3 separate regions of the Homo sapiens genome follow, and regions 2 and 3 are each linked to region 1. Evidence: promoter capture Hi-C in 16 types of primary human blood cells and fetal thymus (Javierre and others, 2016). All regions are on one chromosome and are shown on one strand. The core of a region is centred on a gene start or on the middle of the fragment in contact, and the rest is flanking DNA. Distances in the headings are between cores, read along the strand shown. Region 1 holds the start of IMMP1L (inner mitochondrial membrane peptidase subunit 1). Region 2 overlaps LOC105376622 (a long non-coding RNA gene). Region 3 holds the start of C11orf91 (chromosome 11 open reading frame 91).

Region 1 (4,923 bases), core at 317-2,816:
ACTCAGGAGGAAAATATATTTGAAACAATTAAGTGAAAAATACTTAAACTTATCTAGAAATAACCGGAAAATGAAATGAGAGAATCAAGAAGCCATACTCTTTCTCATAGGTTGCTGGTCTTCTTACTTTCTCTGCACTAAACCTATGAAAAGCCTACTTTGAGGGGAAAATAACCGAAAGAAATGTCAAACGAAGTACAAGAACAAGCAATGAGTTATATTTTATGAAAGTGTACAAGATTTAACAGACACATATCACACACTATGAAAAAAGTTATGTAAACACAGACGGGGTTTTAATGAAACAGCATTCAGAAATTAATCTAGAAGCTTTATTAACACAGCAAATCTGTCCTACCAACTTAATCTGGTCATTCCTTTGAATATAACAGTTATGAAACAAGCATATTCTTCAGCAGGCTTCTCATAAAAAATTCCAGAGATTTTAAAGGAAAGCCTAAGAACTAGACTTTTCTCGTTAAAATGTGAGTTAAATTTAAAGATGTCGTATGGAATGTAGCAGCAATCAATACTGGGAAGCAAAATGTATATAGAAAAAATAAAAAATATATACACAGATTTAACGCAGACACTATCTAAATATCAACGACAGGCTCAAAATACTTTATAAGGATTATGTGTCAACATAAGCCTTTAACATTCGCTCTCTTAAAGCCAAAATGTTTTAAGATTTAGAACCAGAGAACAGGCAGTCTGACGGTCAAAGAGGGGAAATCATTTTTTTCCAGCATCTTCTAATGAAGTCTGTCTCTCACAATTATAAAAACTTTTGCAGGCTGGTCTAAACCGTGAGCTGCCTGGAGAAAGCAGAAGGGAGGTATCCTGAATGAAAGCCAAACCATCTCCATAAATTAATGTCTTCCCTTGACTAGAAAGCATTTCAGGGTAAAAAGCATGTACGAATTCCTCCGTAATATGAAAAGGGGTTGGAGGGCAGGGAATGAAATAGAGAGCGAGGGCACTAAAACATGTTTAGTTAACAGCGCTCAGAAGTCTCCACACAACCCGTATTCCCCTCCATCTCAATCAGACCAGGCTATTCTCTCCTCCTCCGAAGGTTTAGGGGTCAGAAAGAGATGTGGGGTCAAAGTGGCTTCCCCGACAGGTCCCCTCCCTAAGTTTCCCCTCGGCTGAGCCCAGATCTCCGCTCTGAACCGACCTAAGAGCTGGTCTAGGGCTGGGAGCCCGGTTGATACCAGCAGCTGTCCATTCCGCACCGACGGTCGCGTGCCCGCAATGGACACCAGTCGAGGGCCGCTGTCGTTGGTCACGCTGGCTCTAGGACCCCTCCTCTGGAAACTGGTGACGTTGCTCTTGCTGGCTGTCGCCACTGCAGACCCAGTACTCGCGGCAACACTACCGCAGGTTGCCACTGCCGCCATCTTAGAGCCTCCAGTGTTAACCCAATAGGAACTCTGGGAACGCAAACACCCGTCCTATCAGAACCAGTGCCAAACTCCCGCCTCCTCGCCCCAACCGCGGCTCTCGTAACCAATAGGACTGAGACGTCAGTCCCGAGCCAACCAATCGGAAGGCGTATTGCTGAAAAGTGCGCCCTACGAAAGGACGGTCGACTTCGGCGGGGCCCAGGTGAGAAAGGCCCACCTGTGTCCTGGTTGAGGGTCTCCAGGGTTCTTTGGGGCCCGAGGTAGGTAATATCACGTAACGTTCTTCTCCTTTTGAGTGCCTTCATTCACATTGAGTTAAAGAAAAGGTTGGTGAAACAATAAACCCTTAGGGCTTATCAAGCAATTGCTAGCACCTTTCTCCGCTGTGTGTGAGGATAGACTTTTTTCCTGCTCATTTATCTTCTGATTTCTGATAGAAAATTCACTCCGCCTTCCCCACGATGTCTTTTTCTTAATTTTGTGTTATATGGAAAGGATGGGATCTCTTACCTTAATGAGTTGGTTGCTGAGCGTCTGGGCTTAGTTCGTTAGTGCCTAGTGGTAGGTGGTTTGGAATTAAACCTTAGAGCGAAAACTCTTGAACTTTGAGGCTATCTGGTTTTCCTGTGTCTGACAAACTATAGCTCTCTGACAAGTTCCGATAAGAAGCTTTTGTTAATTTTAATTAGTGTTTCTGGAAGTCTTGGATGTCTTTCCTAAGCGGTGTAAATGACAAGTGTTACTCTGACAACCTTGTTCACACATTTAATTGTCGTTTGCTGTTAAAGCAGCTGCAAATAACAGAAAATACTTAGGGTTTCTTTCCCCCAAAAAACTGCTAGGAAGAATTAGAAGTATACCTACTTTATTTTATGAACCCTGAATCGAGAGTTTATTACTAAAATACCAATTTTATGTGTGGAAAAAACATGTATTTTGAGTTGTATTTTTGTATTTAATTTTTTTTTCAAAACTGAGCAGGGACAGTGGGTAACTGATGTTTAAAGGCAATCATGATTGACAAATGTCTAAATTGAAAAGGACTCCCAAATCATTACCGCACTACTGAGTTATTGACTTTGACAGTGATCTGTGATACCTTTTAATTAGAGCCAAACCTCATTGAAATTCTTGCCATCGAATTGTTTTAAATCTCACTGACCTGTTGAAATTTTTGGGCTGATTCTGTTTGATAAATTGAAATTAGTATTGCTAAATAGTGACTGGAGTTTTTCATTTGGGGAGGATTTTTGTTTGTTTGCTTGTTTTTTAGAATCATGTTTAGGAAAAAACCCTGTTTCACAATATATCAACTGGAAAGCTTTGATCAAGGTTGCTTTCATATTGAATCTTTAAGTTACTCAATAAATAGCTGTTGAGTGATTACTGTCTGTTTGGACTTAATCTTGTCATTTTAGACCTATGGTAATAAAAATGGTCTCACCTGGAGGAGATAAAATTAACACATAGAAAACAACATAGTACTTAAAATGAACACATTAAATAGCATGTGCTAATTTTATCCTGTAGTAAATAAGCACTAGGAAGACCAAAAGAAAAAGTGACAAAGCAGTCCAATATCAGATAGAAACGTCTTGAATTTTTTTTTTCTTCAACTTTTGTTTTAGGTTCTGGGCTTCATGTGCAGGTTTGTTACATAGGTAAACGTGTGCTGTGGTGGTTTGCTGCACAGATCAACCCACCACCTCGGTATTAAGCCCAGCATCCATTAGCTATTCTTCCTGATGCTCTCTGTCCCCCCACCCCTACAAATATTTTTGATGCTGTGAACTTTTTGAAATGCTACATATAATTATTATTTTTTGACAGATGGCATTGTTTTGTGTACCTCATGATGCTATGAAGTGTATGTACATTCCGGAATCGTTAAATCTAGCTAATTAGCAATGCATTACCTCACATAGTTATCATTTTTGTGGTAAGAGTACATAACATCTACACTGTTTACATTTTTTTAAAGAATACAATATATGATTATTAACTATAGTCAGCTTGCTATAAATTCATGTTATATAATAGATTTCTTGAAATTTATTCCTCCTATCTAACTGATATTATGTATCTTTGACCAAATTCTCCCCATCCCCCCTGCCAACCATCCTGGCCTCTGGTAAACACCATTGTACTCTCTGTGCGATGAACTATTAGATTCCACCTATGAGTAAGATCATGTGATATTTGTCTTTCTGTGTCTGACTTATTTCACTTAACATAATGGTATAATTCGTTTTTATAGGCTTCTGTATTACATATTCCCTTGTTTCCTACTGTATTTACTTAACCCTTTAGATTTCCCAAGATGATGATAGTGGTGCTTTGTTTGCCTCATTACTAGAACTGAAGAATTATTTTCCAACTTTGACTTGGACTATAATTCTGGAAAGATGATCTATATACACACCAGAGTATTCATGAAATTAGGATATATATCTGGTATAACACTATCGTAGGATAAATATGCTTTTGTTTTTTTTTTCTGAGACGGAGTCTAGGTGTGTTCCCCGGGCTGGAGTGCAGTGGCGCGATCTCGGCTCACTGCAAGCTGTGCCTTCCTGGGTTCACACCATTCTCCTGCCTCAGCCTCCCGAGTAGCTGGGACTACAGGCGCCCGTCACCACGCCCTGCTGATTTTTTGTATTTTTAGTAGAGATGGGGTTTCACCGTGTTAGCCAGGATGGTCTCAGTCTCCTGACCTCGTGATCCGCCCACCTCGGCCTCCCAAAGTGCTGGAATTACAGGTGTGAGCCAGCGCGTCAGCCAAATATGGGTTTTTTGTTTGTTTGTTTTTTGTTTTCTTTTTAGACGGAGTCTCGCTCTGTTGCCAGGCTGGAGTGCAGTGGCATGATCTCGGCTTACTGCAACCTCCGCCTCCTGGGTTCAAATGATCCTCCTGCCTCAGCCTCCTGAGTAGTTGGGACTACAGGCATGCACCACCATGCCCAGCTAATTTATGTATTTTGAGTAGAGACAGGCTTTCACCATGTTGGCCAGGATGGTCTCAATCTCTTGACCTTGTGATCCACCCGCCTCGGCTTCCCAAAGTGTTGAGATTACAGGTGTGAGCCACCGCGCCCAGCCGCCTTTTTTTTTTTTTTTTTTAACAAAGATAAAATCTTTGCTCCCAAATAATTTCAAATTCTTGAACTTACCAGCAAGTAGCAGAGTTGAATATAAAACACGAGAATAAATAAAGTATTCATGGAAAGGAAGAGTTAAAAGTTATATGTTGGCTGGGCACAGTGACTCATGCGTGTAATTCCAGCACTATGGGAGGACGAGGCGTGCAGATCACAAGGTCAGAAGATCGAGACCTTCCTGGCTAACATGGTGAAACCCCGTCTCTACTAAAAAATACAAAAAAATTAGCTGGGCATGGTGGCGGGCTTCTGTGGTCCCAGCTGCTCAGGAGGCTGAGGCAGGAGAATGGGGTGAACCCGGGAGGCAGAGCTTGCAGTGAGCCGAGATTGCGCCACTGCACTCCAGGCCTGGGCGA
Region 2 (4,923 bases), core at 110-2,609, 2.9 Mb before region 1:
CCAGGGCGGGGCTCCCGGTTATCAGCATCCTTCAGGCCGCCCTGGGACGCGGCCGTTGGTGGCCTGCCAGTTTTGCAGACGGAATACTTAGACCCTGCTGGGTGGGGCCTTGCGCTCCATAGCTATGCTTTCTCAGCTCTTAAAAAGTCAGCAATCCTGGGTTAAATTACTCTGTACAAAATTAAATTTTGCCATACGCTAATGTAAGTATTATTTGCAACCAAAGGATGGATGGATGCTTTTCTTTTTCTTTCTTAGCTCTTCTTAACTTATTCGTGGATTATCACTTACTAGACTAGTATACTAATTATTTAATATAAAAACACTCTGAAACGTTTATCTCCGTACAGATGGGTGTTGATTTCCTCCTTTACCAGAGAAAAACAACTTAACTTAGATGGGAAAAATGTATTCCCTTGTGATGGGAAAAATGTATTCAACTCTGGTACACTGCCAAATTGGCTTCTTTAAACACTGGAGAAATCTGCTTCCCCAAATTTTACCCCCAGGTAAGCAGGAATTTTGAAAAGCTTTGTGTCTTTAAAAAGCTATGTTGAAGAGTAAAATACTTAGTAATATATAGTACAATATTTAGTAAGTTACTGACTAGTTTGTCATTGTAATCAAAGAGTTTGAATGATTTCTACACCTCCTCAGGTGCTAGGATTTATCTTTAAGCACCTTAATATATATACATAGTATATACCATCATCTTCAAATTAAAAGTTATCAGCTTTTAATTTTTTCCAGTACAACTACATATAATGGGTGGATATATAATAGTGGAAACTTCACATGTTGTTCTTGATCTTACAAAAGTATGATAAGAATCTTGGGCATAAAAGTGGAACTTTAGCAGTTCATTGGAAAAGAAAGCCACAAATTGATCTTTAGCACCCTATACTTTTCCTATATTAAAAACAATTATAAAGATGCTGTTGGCTGTGTAATTTGGTGTCTTTTTCTACCTGCCCGATCCATACTGCCAAGACTGTAAACTCCATGTGGGTCAGGATCCTCCCATCCATAATTTATTGAGCACTTACTATATACCAGGGACTATTCTCAGCTTTTTGTATATTTGCTTAGTTAACCCTCCCAACAACCCTATGAGTTAGATACTAATATTATCTTCATTTTACAGATTAGGAAACAGAGGTATAGGGAGGTTAAATAACTTGCCCAAAGTTACACAGCTATTAAGGGATAGTCAGGATTCTAGCTTCAGCTGTTCATCTCCAAAGTCCACAGTTTGTTGAATAAATAAATGTTGAAATAATCGAGCAAATCATCTTCTTAACTAACCAACACAAATATCAACAAAATAAATAAGAGACCTGGAGTCATTTCTTAACCTTTATTCATTATATAAAAAAAAGCATGTTTTTTTTTCCTTTGTTTTTGTTACTATGGATTTGAATTCCTAAAGAATTATTTCTAGAGAAAGAAATGGAGAAACAAGACTGGTTTCTGATCTTGTCATATCTTGTATTTTAAAATAAAGGGCAGGCTTACAAGTAATGACAATAAATTTATAATGTTACATAGGAGGCTGGGTGCGGGGGCTCACGCCTGTAATCCCAGCACCTTGGGAGGCCGAGGCAGGCGGATCACTTGTGGCCAGAAGTTCGAGACCAGTCTGGCCAACATGGTAAAACCCCACCTCTGCTAAAAATACAAAAATTAGCTGGGCGTGGTGGCACACGCCTGTAGTCTCAGCTACTCAGGTGGCTGAGGCGAGAGAATCACTTGAACCCAAGAGGCGGAGGTTGCAGTGAGCCAAGATTGTGCCACTGCACTCCAGCCTGGGTGACAGAGTGAGGCTTCATCTCAAAAAAATTAAAAATTAAAAAAAGTCACATATTAGGTGGAAGTTCTATCGACTATAATTACAGCTTAAATGAAAACACTTCTTAAAATCAGCCCTAGTTAAAAAATACTTGAAACCAAACCAATACAATTACCTAAAGGTAATTGCAAGTGATTGGTTAGGTAAACAAATTGGGTTCTAGGTTTTAATATTTTAGTCATATGAATTCATGGGTATTTTTATTGATATAAATAAAAATGTTATTTTAAAAATGCTGTTCTCTGAAGTCAATTTTCAGAACTCAATGAAAATAAAATATACTGGCACAAGACATACTGTTATTAATCCTGGTATCAACAAATTTGAAACCAAGCTTGCAAAGTAGACCATGTAACAAATGTTCAAGAAAAACATTTGAGTACTCAGCTAGGAATCTTTATAGACAAATTTTATTTCATCAGTATTGCAAGAAAAGAATGGAGAGAATGAACATCATGTGTTGTTGGATGACAGGCATACAAGACAGCACAAGGGGTAATTACTCTGTTCTGATTCCACCCATCCTCAGAGAGGCCGAGAATGTTCTACATATTTCAGTTTCATTCTCTTCACAGTGGCCTTGTGAGGTAAATTCAGAGTTAGGCAAAAAGGAAGAGAAAAGAACACAACAAGAAACAAAGAGAGTTACAATTCAGTATTGGCTGTTGGCTTTAAGAGAAGAGAATAAACATCACCACAGCTCCATGACTCCTGTTCACTGTGGAACAGGCTTGAGCAAGCCAAAGAAGAAGGTGGGATTTGCTTTAAAAAGTAGCAGTGGTGTTATATGCAGTAGCAGCACATACCTTCTGCTCTGCCTATTTGGCTGCACCATATCTTTCCCGCTTTAATATGAATAATTGCCTACTTGGGAGGAGGCAACCCAGATGTCCTCTGGTGTCTGGTGATGGCCATAGCATGAGCTATGCTAAGGAGAAGAACATGGATGTGCCTTTTCCCGCCTCGGCCTTACGTGCCACGCTACTGATCTGGTGTTTGCAAAAAAAGGAAACATAGGCCAGGCCTGGTGGCTCATGCCTGTAATCCCAGCACTTTGGGAGGCCAAGACAGGTGGATCTCTTGAGGTCAGGAGTTCAAGACCAGCCTGGTCAACATGGCAAAACCCTGTCTCTGCTAAAAATACAAAAATTAGCTGGGCGTGGTGGCTCTTGCCTGTAGTCCCAGCTGCACGTGAGGCTGAGGCAGGAGAATCGCTTGAACCCAGGTGGCAGAGGTTGCAGTGAGCCGGGGTCATGCCACTGCACTCCAGCCCGGGTGACAGAGCAAGACTCCGTCTCAAAAACAAAACAAAACAAAAAACAGAAGAAACATAGAAATAATAATTGGGAATTTGTTTTTACCTTCACTTTTTTTTCTTTTTTTTTTGAGACGAAGTCTCGCTCTGTCACCCAGGCTGGAGTGCAGCGGCAAGATCTCGGCTCACTGCAAGCTCTGCCTCTTGGGTTCATGCCATTCTCCTGCCTCAGCCTCCCGAGTAGCTGGGACTACAGGCGCCCGCCACCACACCCAGCTAATTTTTTTGTGTTTTTAGTAGAGACGGGGTTTCACCGTGTTAGCCAGGATGGTCTCGATCTCCTGACCTCGTGATCCACCCACCTCGGCCTCCCAAAGTGCTGGGATTACAGACGTGAGCCACCTCGCCCGGCCCTTAACTTATTTTTTATACTTACTAATGGAGGCTTGGAAAATGCAGGATAAAATATCAAACAATCATTCAAAGATTACGATAAACAGGTAACATTTTTACCAATATTTTCTCTCTTATATGTTTGTAAAGGAGTGTGTGTGTGTGTGTGAGAGAGAGTTTTACAATGGATCCTATAGAATACATAATCTTATATCCTGCTTTTTCCACCTAACATTATCAGATAAAACTTTTTCCAAGTCATTAAATCTTTTTCCAAAATGTGATATTTTTCTCCTATGCCTACACAATTTGCAATCAAAGGACTATTCCTTTATTTACATACTCCTTTACTGAGAACATTTAAATTGTTTTCTTCTATAACAGTACAGTGACATCCTTCCTCTACATTTGTATTTATTTCCTTAGGACCTGTTTTCAGAGGTCATTTTTGGTTCAAGTCATTTGAACTTTTTAAGGTTCTTGTGACATGTTGTTGATTGTTTTCTGCAATGCTCGAGCTAGTTTATACTGTCACAGGCACTGAGAGTGTGGATTGGAAGTGCAATTTTCAAGACAGGTGAATATCTGGATTCTGGATGTTCATCAATTGCATATTTCATCACATTCTTCTGAGAGAGAAGGCCTCTCATGTTATGTTCAGCCATAACCACTAACCCATGGGAGTCATCCAATATACTGGATGTCTGCTGTGTCCTGGGCCCCCTGCCTATTGGGCTCTGGGAGTACAACAGCAAAGGACGTGGACATAGACAAATAATCAGACAATAACACGGGGAAAAAGTGCTGAGAGAAGGGAAGGCCAGCTGTTATTAGGATTACCTAAGAAGGTCGCCTAACCTGAACCTGCTAAGTCATGGAGGCTTTGAGTAAAGCTGAGAAACTGAATAGGTGTCAGGCGTGGTGTCAGGAGTAAGCATTATATGATCCACCCTGCTACCGCAGAAATCCAGATTGTTAACCACTTTTCCCTAAAAGTCTGACTTCATTCATGGTGATATGGAGATGGCTTGAGTAGGACTCAGTAGCAAGCAAATATTTACAACAGGTGTTGAGCCTTTTTCAAGTTTGTGCAGGTCCACTGGCCTCTGAACTTGACTTTGACTAGCTTAAGCTCCTGCGGCTCACCCACATTCCCTCCTTGCCTCTGGGCTCCTGCAAGGCCTGGGTCAACCAGTCATGTTTAACTACTGGGATTCACATGCTTGGATTGAAGTTATTTTTCCAGTGCTGCTCTCTCAGAGGTATTTTGCTTGCCTCCCTTGTTTATGCTTTAAATGTTGCACCTGGGCTTGACCTTGGGTTTAAGTCTGTTTGCAGAAACCAGACATGGGTTCTTGTACTCTGACAATAAAAATAAAAAGTCAAACCTCATAGACAATCAACACATTCATTATGGACTGAGAGC
Region 3 (4,923 bases), core at 1,259-3,758, 2.2 Mb before region 1:
GTCCAGATGCAGAGCTGGAGTGGGGGAGGGGAAGGGGGGCTCCTTGGGACAGAGAAGGCTTTCTGTGCTTTCTCTGAAGGGAGCAGTCTGAGGACCAAGGGAACCCGGCAAACAGCACCTCAGGTACTCCAGGCCCTCCTGGCTGGAGAGGGCTGTGGCAATGGAAAATTAGTGCCAACTGCAATGAGTCAGCCTCGGTTAAATAGAGAGTGAAGAATGCTGGACAGGAACCTCCACCCTCATGTCACATTTCTTCAGTGTGACCCTTCTGGCCCCTCTCCTCCTGACAGCGGAACAATGACTGCCCCGATAGGTGAGGCTGGAGGAAGAATCAGTCCTGTCCTTGGCAAGCTCTTCACTATGACAGTAAAGGCTCTCTGCCTGCTGCCAAGGCCTGTGACTTTCTAACCTGGCCTCACGCTGGGTAAGCTTAAGGTAGAGGTGCAGGATTAGCAAGCCCACCTGGCTACCAGGCCGACAGCTACATCTTTCAACTGACCCTGATCAACGAAGAGGGACTTGTGTCTCTCAGTTGGTTCCAAATGAAACCAGGGAGCAGGGGCGTTAGGAAGCTCCAACAGGATGGTACTTAATGGGGCATTTGAGTGGAGAGGTAGGTGACATAGTGCTTTGGAGCCCAGGGAGGGAAAGGTTCTGCTGAAGTTGAATTCAAGACTGTTCTTTCATCACAAACTTGAGTTTCCTGGACATTTGTTTGCAGAAACAACCGTAGGGTTTTGCCTTAACCTCGTGGGTTTATTATTACCTCATAGGGACTTTGCCTCCTGACAGCAGTTTATGGGTGTTCATTGTGGCACTTGAGTTTTCTTGCATACTTGTTAGAGAAACCAAGTTTGTCATCAACTTCTTATTTAACCCCCTGGCTATAACTTCATGGATTATGTTATAATTAAGCCATCCAGAGTAAAATCTGTTTAGATTATCTTGGAGTAAGGGGGAAAAAATCTGTAATTTTTTCTCCTCAACTAGATATATACATAAAAAATGATTGTATTGCTTCATTTAAAAAATATAACGCAAAATCTCTTTTCCTTCTAAGGGCCTTTAATATGTAATAACAAGAGCTAATGTTGAACACAAGCCATTGCCAGGTACTTAAACTGTCTCACTTAGTCTTGCCAACCTAAGCAAGTAGATGCCATTACTATTCCCATTATATTGATGAAAAAATGAGGTTGAGAAAGGTTCAGCCGCACAGCCAAATACATAGTGGATCCAGGGTTTGGTCCCAAGTCTTGAGTCCAAAACCCTGGTTCTTACCATTACTGTGGTTCTGTAGGGGTGAAAAAATTTTTCTTCTAATCTCTTAGGTTCAGAGCCTGGGGCCTGAGAATTAAACTGACAAAGACAGATTAACAGAAGACAAAGTTTATTACGCAGGTACATGGGGTTCTTACAGAAACAAAGTGAAAACCCAAAGAAGTGGCTTGAGAGCTTATATACAATTTTAACAATGGGCGATTGTAGAAAAGTGATAAGACAAAGGAAAAGAGGTTTGAGCTTCTTGGGCAGTAAATTATGGGAAGTTAAATATGTGGGGGAAACTAATGGAAGATAAGGGTATTTTTTATTTTATTTTATTTTATTTATTTTGAGACAGGGTCCTGCCTTGTCACCCAGGCTGGAGTGCAGTGCTATGATTGTGGCTCACTGCAGCCTCAACCTCAGCCTCCTTGGTTCAAGAAATCCTCCCACTTCAGCTCCTGAGTGGCTCCAGGCAAATGCCACCACACCTGGTTAATTTTTTAAATTATTTTATAGAGACAGAATCTCGCTATGTTGCCCCTGGCTGTTCTCAAACTCTTGGCCTCAAGAGATCCCACCTCAGACTCCCAGAGTGCTGGGATTACAGGCTGGGTGCTGAGCTATCGCACATGGCCTGTATTAGCCATAGACTGAGGGGAAATACATTTTCTTGAGAGCCTCAGCCTAGTGATCACTTGTATGAATAAACAATGATGGGTGGCTGCCAAAGTCAGAGAGCAAATACTGCGTGTGACAACTAAGTGTGGGAAGCTCAGTGTGGGAAGAAAAAGCTTCCCAGTTTCAGACATGCCCCTTAGTAGGGACAGCTGCCTCTTGTGTTTGGACAAAGTGTCCAAGTTCAAGTGTTTCACACACACACTGTTCCGTCTTCTGTTTGATCACAACCCTATGAGGCAGCCTGGTTTTCTTATTTCTATTTTATGGAAAACCTACTTAAAAGTCAAGCAACTTGTCCAAGGCTACCCAGCTTGAATATCTGACTCTCTCCACTTTGCTGCTACACACACACACACACACACACACACACTTTGCACTGTGTGTGCAGATACATATGCATATATATATTTAACTTGTGAAGCTGATACTGACTCTTTAACTGCCCTCCACCCATCACTAGTCATACCAGTGATCATTAGGCAGAGGCTCTCAAGAAAATGTATTAGTTATTTCCCCTCAGTCTATGGCTAATACAGGTTACTCACATAAATGAGCTGTCATGTCCTTTGGACAAAATGTCCAAATCGCTCATAAGCAATGGGTGAAGTATTTGAGGTAGGGCGGACAGGATTTCCTTTTGGTGGTTAGCTCGTTGCCTGTTAGCTCCTGGTGATATCTGTGTTTGGAAGAGAACTAAACTGCATTTCACTGAAAACACTCCTTCAGGTCTATTACAAACCAGATGAGGATCCCCTTTTCTAGAATCTTCCTCAACACTGCTAACGTTTGGCAGATACATAGGTTGGCTCTAACAGCCATTCCCAATCAATCCTCTTCTCCTTTGTCTGCCTCCCACAGTAGTGGATGAAAAATCAGACACTGATTTTCTCAGACTTCTTTGCTGTGGGCGCGGCCAGTGAGGCAATGAGGTAAGTCTGCTGGTGCAGGGGCCAGGTTTCTAGGAAATACTTTTCTCCCTCATGGGAGAAAGAGAGGAAGCCTGAAGTAAGCTTTCTTCTGCAGCCCTGGCCCGCTGCCTGTTCTGGATGAGGGTATGCTGGGATATGACAACGGAAGCCAGCGGGGTCGCAGAGCAAGAGCGAGGCGGTGGGCGGAGTCGAGGGACGGGAGGCGAGGCGAGGCGAGCCAGGGGGCGTGGCTTTCTAACTGCGGGGTGCGGCCAGCCGAGGTGGGCGGGGCCGCGTTCCGGGACGTGGTCGTCCGGGCTTTGGAACCCCGCCTGTTAGGGGCCGGGCTGAGGCGAAAGGGTGGGGCCGCGCTCCATCGGGGCGGGGCTTGTGGAACCTCGAAACCCCGGCGACTCGGGGCCTGAGCGCGCGTCTCCCGGCGCGGGGTTCCTCCCACGCAGACCCTCATTCAAACGATGCCAAAGGGGCGGCGCGGCAGCCACAGCCCCACCATGAGCCAGCGGTCGGCTCCGCCCCTCTATTTCCCGTCCCTGTACGACCGCGGCATCTCCTCGTCCCCGCTCAGCGACTTCAACATCTGGAAGAAGCTCTTCGTGCCGCTGAAGGCGGGCGGGGCGCCAGTGGGCGGGGCGGCGGGGGCCCGGTCCCTGTCCCAGGCGCTCCCCGCCCCGGCGCCCCCGCCCCCGCCACCACCCGGCCTGGGTCCCTCCAGCGAGCGCCCCTGGCCCTCGCCCTGGCCCTCCGGCCTGGCCTCCATCCCCTACGAGCCTCTGCGCTTCTTCTACTCACCGCCGCCGGGGCCTGAGGTGGTTGCCTCGCCCCTGGTCCCCTGCCCCTCGACCCCCAGGCTCGCCTCTGCCTCCCACCCGGAGGAGCTCTGCGAGCTGGAGATCCGGATTAAGGAGCTGGAGTTGCTCACCATCACTGGGGACGGCTTCGACTCCCAGAGCTGTGCGTGACCTCGCCAGGGCCACCGAGCCCAGCCTTAGCCTGCCCTAGCTCCCTCCTTGGCTCCGTGCCCCGACCCGAAATGTAGCCTGGTTTGACTCCAGCCCCCAGTAGTCCCAGATCCAAAATCTATCCCCTAGCACCCAGACTCCCTTATCCTGGACTTAACCGACTCCTCCCCCCACCACAGATCTGAACTTCATGAGCCTCTTAGTCCCAAACTCCATCCTCCCTCCGTCCTAAACCCTTTGGGTCATCTGGACTCTGAGCCTCCACACCTGGAACTCCATCCGCCACCACCCCGTCCTGAACTTTAATCCTCCTGCACAGTCATCCTCCTACCCTGTACTCTGGAGCTCCACCCACCACAGACAGTCCCTAAGCTTTAATGTTCGGTCCTAAACCGGGGCTCTCCATGGGGGGAAGGTGAAGTAAGGTGACTGTCAGTTGTCTGTAGGGGGAGGTGGGAGTTGTGCAAGAACCACAAGGCCCAAGGCCGTTTCCAGGGCAGCTTTGGGACACTCCACTTCTCAATGCTGGGGGGCAGCCCCCCTGGGACTCTGTGGCCTTGGCGCCGGTAGTTCTCTCACCAGGATCCTGGGCTGATATCTGGTCTTACGTCTGAAGTCTTAGGGCTCTGGACCACGTGTGCTGATGCGGGCAGGATCCCTCAGCCTACGAGCTGAATGACTCCTCCCTGTTGGAGGGTAAAGTTGTTAAATGCCTTGTACTCCAAGAAGGACCTATTGCAAAGTAGAACTTTCAGTAGCGGTAGGTTGTCCTGCAGACTTTGTCTTTCCCATCACTTGTTTTGGCTAAGGCTTGTCCTTGACCACTGGAGAAGGGCAGATAGTTCTAAAAAGATCATTCCAACTATCGTATATAACGGCTTAAGTTGGCTTCCCCTGCCACACAGAGAAGGGAAGTATGAAATAACCTAAATGCTTAGGTCCGTGTGGCCATGGAAATGGTCTTCAGTTCATCAGACACACTGTAATGCACCCTTTCTCATAGCCATGGAAGGAAGACAGTCCCTAGAAAAACTGGGCTTTGCTAAGTCCTGGATTTCTTAACTATGAATACATACATAATACTATGTATT

Evidence for each region. Contacts are between HindIII fragments. The CHiCAGO score rates a contact against its expected background, and 5 or more counts as called.
Region 2: a contact is called between a fragment that was not itself captured here and the fragment with the promoter of IMMP1L in region 1, in 1 of 17 cell types (fetal thymus). The highest score is 5.0, in fetal thymus.
Region 3: a fragment that was not itself captured here is called in contact with the fragment with the promoter of IMMP1L in region 1 in 1 of 17 cell types (non-activated CD4 T cells); the score reaches 5.8 in non-activated CD4 T cells.

Annotation. Positions count from the first base shown.
Region 1 is chr11:31,506,265-31,511,187 of GRCh38, reverse strand. IMMP1L (inner mitochondrial membrane peptidase subunit 1) reads left to right here and starts at 1,566. Exons shown (of 6, transcript NM_001304274.2): 1 at 1,566-1,669. ELP4 (elongator acetyltransferase complex subunit 4) reads right to left here and starts at 1,421. Exons shown (of 10, transcript NM_019040.5): 1 at 1,181-1,421. The coding sequence starts at 1,403. RefSeq lists enhancers at 1,117-1,406, 539-1,428. The HindIII fragment of the contact is 1,748 bases long and covers 333-2,080 here.
Region 2 is chr11:34,433,751-34,438,673 of GRCh38, reverse strand. LOC105376622 (a long non-coding RNA gene) reads right to left here. Exons shown (of 3, transcript XR_931180.3): 3 at 2,352-2,428. Among named protein-coding and RNA genes, the nearest start is that of CAT, 2.7 kb to the left of the region's middle. The HindIII fragment of the contact is 1,653 bases long and covers 533-2,185 here.
Region 3 is chr11:33,699,146-33,704,068 of GRCh38, reverse strand. It overlaps C11orf91 (chromosome 11 open reading frame 91), which reads left to right and starts at 3,243. Exons shown (of 2, transcript NM_001166692.2): 1 at 3,243-3,824. The coding sequence starts at 3,329. It overlaps CD59 (CD59 molecule (CD59 blood group)), which reads left to right. Exons shown (of 4, transcript NM_000611.6): 4 at 1-1,059. RefSeq lists silencers at 3,068-3,307, 3,488-3,577. The HindIII fragment of the contact is 897 bases long and covers 2,060-2,956 here.